Regions from separate parts of the Homo sapiens genome. Here region 1 is linked to region 2. Evidence: promoter capture Hi-C in human tissues and cell types (Jung and others, 2019). All regions are on one chromosome and are shown on one strand. The core of a region is centred on a gene start or on the middle of the fragment in contact, and the rest is flanking DNA. Distances in the headings are between cores, read along the strand shown.

Evidence for each region. The method cuts DNA at HindIII sites, captures the fragments that hold promoters and counts their contacts. A contact is called where the count stands out against the background at its distance.
Region 1: a contact is called between the fragment with the promoter of CYP4F3 here and a fragment that was not itself captured in region 2, in 4 of the 25 tissues and cell types used here (dorsolateral prefrontal cortex, heart right ventricle, lymphoblastoid cells and 1 more).

The regions. Positions count from the first base shown.
Region 1 is chr19:15,639,571-15,642,389 of GRCh38, forward strand. It overlaps CYP4F3 (cytochrome P450 family 4 subfamily F member 3), which reads left to right and starts at 1,327. Exons shown (of 13, transcript NM_000896.3): 1 at 1,327-1,375; 2 at 1,845-2,043. The coding sequence starts at 1,846. The HindIII fragment of the contact is 9,363 bases long and covers 1-2,819 here.
Region 2 is chr19:14,924,348-14,927,047 of GRCh38, forward strand. No RefSeq gene overlaps it. Among named protein-coding and RNA genes, the nearest start is that of OR7C2, 16 kb to the right of the region's middle. The HindIII fragment of the contact is 7,045 bases long and covers 1-2,700 here.

The DNA of each region.
Region 1 (2,819 bases), core at 77-2,576, 720 kb after region 2:
AGACCCTCTTTATGTAGATCAGGAAACACTCAGTAGGAAGTCACCATATAGAGCAGGTGGTATCAGTAGGCACTGTTTATGTAGAGCACTTGGCACTCAGTAGGCATGTGTTATGTAGACAGCAACTGGTGCTCAGTGGGCACTCTTCATATACAGGGGGTGGCACTCAATAGGCACTCACTATGTAGAGCAGGTGGCACACAGTAGGCACTCTATGAGGAATATCAGGAACTGAGTATACAGGGTTAATGTAGAGCACCTGGCACACAGTAGGCACACTTTATGGAAAGCACTTGGCACAGAGTAGACAGGATTTAGCACCTGGCACACAGTAGCTGCCCTTCATTTAGAGTATTGGCACACAGTAGAAGTACTTTCCATGCAGCCTTTGTGCAGAGTAGAGACTGGCACACAGCAGCTCAAGTGCTAGTTGCCACCCTTTCCCTTCACTCCTTTTTGGGGCTCCCTCCTCTTAGGAGCCCTCATTGTCCCCCGCTAAGGCCCTCATCGAACATCCCATTTCCCAGATGGGAAGACTGCACCCAGGAGGGGCAGTACTGACCAAAGTCAGAGCAAGGATGAGGCAGAATGAGGACTCCATTCATGGTTCCCTGGCTCTGCCCTTCCCCTGCCTGGACCCCATCCGTTCCCTCTCATCCTAACCCTCCACGTCCCCGCTCTGTCCTCCTATACTGAGTCCGGCCTCCAGATTTGCTTTTCCAGCTGAGCTCTTAATCTCCAGAATCTGACCCAGGTAATCCTCAGTGGGGCTGGATTCTTTGTTCCCGTTCCTAGCAGTCAGGTCTCCAACAGGGCCCTGGACTGCCTGGAGGCAAGACTTGAACTCCATCCAGCAGCAGGGGGATAGAGGCTTGTCTCTTCCAGGTTGCCTGATTCAGCATCCAGAAGTGGTACACGGTGTCCTACCGGCCCAGGGTTAGAGAGGAGCACAGGAGATGATCTGGAACAAGGCTTGGCCTGGCCTGGCTCGCTTGACACCTGAACTCTCAAGTTCATGCTTTTATCTGCCACACACTCAGTAGGTGCTCTTTAAGAGCAGGTGTCACACAGTGGAAACTCTATCTGACCCCTCTCGGCTTACTCTCCACCTTATGTGGGAGGTGCTGAGACCTGAGGATCCAGTGCCTGTGCTGTGTCACCCTGAGCTGGTTCCTCTGCATCCAGCTGGTCTCCCACACCCAGGTTTTGGCCAGCTGCCCAGACATGGGAGCGGCACCCAGGCTGTGGGGATTGGCTGGCCCAGCCCAGCCCAGCCTAGCCTCCCACAGCCTTCCCTACATCAGGGGCCAGGGGAAAAAACCTCCCAGAAGAAGGGGAGAGGAGGTTGTGTGGGACAAGGTGCTCCTGACAGAAGGTGCCAGGGTGGGGGTGGTGGGCCTGGGGCATCCTAGCCTGTGATGGAGATGGGCACTGGGCAAGGGATTGGGCGCACACATAGGGGAGCCCCAGCCTTCCCACATTCTCCATTGCTGCCCAAGGCCCAGGCAGCTCCTGGTTGCTGGCTTGGAGGATGAGTGGTTTTCTAACTGAAACCAAGCCCCTGGCAACGTCCTAATGATTCAGGCTGGGCCTTTCTGGACTTTAATCAGTTTCTCTGTCTTTCTCAATCTAAGTGCTTACCGGGTAACTGGAGGCCACTTGGTTGCTGGTTTTGGCTGGGCCTTTCTGGACTTTACCCCTCAGCCCCTGTTTATCCATCCCTGTTTACTCTTACTGTTCTATCTCCAGCACTGCCCGTCTCTGCCTCTCTCCACTGTCCCTGGAGCTCCCTGGGCCCTTCCCTGGGCCTCAGGACCTCACTCACCACCCCATCTGCCCTGCAGGATGCCACAGCTGAGCCTGTCCTCGCTGGGCCTTTGGCCAATGGCAGCATCCCCGTGGCTGCTCCTGCTGCTGGTTGGGGCCTCCTGGCTCCTGGCCCGCATCCTGGCCTGGACCTATACCTTCTATGACAACTGCTGCCGCCTCCGGTGTTTCCCGCAACCCCCGAAACGGAATTGGTTCTTGGGTCACCTGGGCCTGGTGAGTGTGGCAGCAGGACGGGTCTGGGGTCTCAGGGTGGATGGACTTCCTGAGGGGTAAGAATGAGGCTCAGGTGAGAGGGGGTGGGCTGGGGTCTGGGGTGGCAGAGAAGCAGGGGAGGCGTCTTACTCATTCCTCTGCTTACTCATTTCTGTGAGGTGCCAACCCAAGCCCTTCTCACCTCCCTGTTCTCCCACTCTTGGCCTGTGTTGAATCCTTTTCCTGCCTGTCTTTCCACATTAATGCACCTCTGCGGGGCTCTTGGGCAGGGGGTTGGGTGCACAGAAAGGTGAACCCCTGGCGTTCCCACATTCTCCATTGCTGGACTCGAGGCCTCCTGTACCCACTGTTCAGGGTCCTCTCCCTACCTGGCCTATTTCCTCTTATGAGGGTATAGGTGGGCCAGAGGAGAGGTGTGGGCTGTCTCTCACCTCCACCACATCCGGAGGCACCTTCCTCTTATCTTGTTCCTCCCCAGTAAGATGTCCCAATGGGGTCCTGTTGCCAAACCCACATAAAAGTTGGCCACTCACTTCCCCTTTCAGAAGCCTTCCCTGACCTTTCTCCTCCCCCAGACCTTGCCCTCTGACTTAGACCTGCTCTCCCCTTTGCGGAACGTGGTCTCAATCTGCTCATTGCAAATGGCAGGATTGATGGGTGTGTCCACAGGTGAAGTGGGAGGGTGCACAGGATGCACTAGCACAGAGCCTGGTGCAGAAGCTTCTCCCAGGTGGGAGCCACTGTCATGATGGACAGTTAGAGTCACCTCTGCTCCC
Region 2 (2,700 bases), core at 186-2,685:
TATCAAGCAAAATTGTTGTATTTTTATAATTTTTTATGTTTTTTTAAACAGAAGACAGAACATGACCATACAAAAAAATGGAAAGATAATCTGATATTGAAAGCTTGCTTCATTTCCATTCCTCTCTAATATTAATGGTGTGACTGGAGGTGAGAACAGCTTGCTATAAACACAGTCCCAGGAGTCCTCATTCAGCTTCAAGTGTGTGCCTGTGTGTGTGTCTGTACTAATTGTGCATATGTGTGTCTGTCTTTAGTGGGGAGAGTGATTTCAAAATAACATCATTAAACAGAATTGAAAGGAGCCTTGCTAATTAACTGAAACAAGATATGAAGTAGCAATAATTTAATGTTTTCAACATGGATAAATAATTAAAGTTGCAAAGACCTAGGCATAAAAGAATATGACATACAAATGAGGTAGAGATATCCCTTTTAAGAGTAGAGGGACGCAGTGGCTCACGCCTGTAGTCCCAGTACTTTGGGAGGCCGAGGCAGGCAGATCACGAGGTCAGGAGATCGAGACCATCCCGGCTAACATGGTGAAACCCTGCCTCTACTAAAAATGCAAAAAAATTAGCCGGGCGTGGTGGCGGGCGCCTGTAGTCCCAGCTACTTGGGAGGCTGAGTCAGGAGAATGGTGTGAACCTGGGAGGCGGAAGTTGCAGTGAGCCGAGATCGCGCCACTGAACTCCAGCCTGGGCAACAGAGCGAGACTCCGTCTCAAAAAAAAAAAAAAAAAAAAAAAAAGTAAAGGGACCTGGACTCAATATATTCCAAAAGGTGACTCAGAATACAGAGGTCAGCACGCAAGGCAGCATATGGAAATAAACAAAGGATGCATTTCAATTCATGGGACATGGAGCCAATTTATTAAAGTGCAAATAGAAAACATCAGGACAAGCCTGGGCGTGGTGGCTCACGCCTGTAATCCCAGCACTTTGGGAGGCCGAGACAAAAGGATCACTTGAGGTCAGGAGTTTGAGACCAGCCTGGCCAACATGGTGAAGCCCCATCTCTACCAAAAAATATAAATCTTAGCAGGGCATGGTAGCAGGCACCTGTAGTCTCAGCTACTTGGGAGGCTGAGGCAGGAGAATCTCTTGAACCCAGGAGGTGGAGGTTGCAGTGAACCCACATCATGCCACTGCACTCCAGCCTGGCCGACAGAGTGAGACTCTGTCTCAAAACCAAACCAAACCAAACAAAATCTGGGCAGAGGGACTTCTTGTATTTTGAAGCTTCAGCAGCAATGAAGTCACCTCATAGTGCAACATCTTCTGACACCATCTCCCATCACTTACCTCTCACAGATTTCCCTGCCACACTGGCTTCCTCGTTGGCCTTGAACATCTGAAACCTTCCTCTACACCTTTGCACCGGCCATTCTTTCTGCTGGGCACACACATTCCCAGATATCCTCATGGCTCCCGCCCTGTCTTCCTTGAGGTCTCATTTCTCTTTTTAAAAATTTCAGCTTTTCTTACAGATTAAAGGGTACATGTGCAGGTTTGTTACACGGGTAAATTGTGTGATGCTGAGGCTTCGGGTCCTAACAATCCCATCACTCAGGAGGTAAGCATAGGACCCAACAGATGGTTCTTCAGCTCACATCCCCCTCCCTCCATCCTCTGTCCAGCGGTCTCCAGTGTCAATTGTTCCCATCTTTGTGTTCACGTATATTCGATGTTTAGCTACCATTTATAAGTGAGAACATGCGATATTTGGTTTTCTGTTCTTGCATTAGGTCGCTCAGAATAACGGCCTCTAGCTTCATCCATGTAGCTGGAAAGGACATGATTTCATTCTTTTTTATGGCTGCCTAGTATTCCATGGTGTATAAGTACCACAGTTTCTTTGTCCAATCCACTATTGATGGGCACCTATCACCTTGACTGCTAGTATTCTCTGGACACCTAGGAAAATTAACATCCTCTATCCACCCTCGCCTTTTTACCTTCTTTCTTTTTCTTGCTAGCCCTGGTTACCATCTGACACAGTATATGATTTACTTGTATTCTTCTCCATACTTCACTGTAGGAACTTTTGTTTTTCAGCACTGTTCACTCATTGTCTAGACAGAGCCTGGAACGTTGACAACACTCAATTTAAATTCCTCAAATCCATGAAAGAATTTATCATTAAAGTATTGGTTTTTGTTTTGTTTTGTTTTGTTTTGTTTGAGATGGAGTTTTGCTCTTGTAGCCCAGGCTGGATGGAGTGCAATGGCGCCATCTTGGCTCCCTGCAACCTCTGCCTCTCAGGTTCAAATGATTCTCCTGCCTCAACCTCCCGAGTAGCTGGGATTACGGGCACGCACCACCACATCCGGCTAACTTTGTATTTTTAGTAGAGATGGGTTTTCTCCATGTTGGTCAGGCTGGTCTTGAACTCCCGACCTCAGGTGACCCGCCCACCTCTGCCTCCCAAAGTGCTGGGATTACAGGTGTGAGCCACCGCACCCGGCAAAGTTTTTAAATAAATGACCATTTGGGGAAAAGTTGAGCATCATGGGAAAGGAATTCCTAAGCAGAGATGGGATGGGAGATCTCATAAAGTAGACCAGATTCACACACAAAATATAGAAATTAACTTGCTGACTGTAGGATATAAATAATAGCTTTTCTGATGGGTGAAAAAAGCATGCTTATGTCATGTATTTTCTCTCTCTCTCTTTTTTTTTTTTTTATAGTCACCTCTA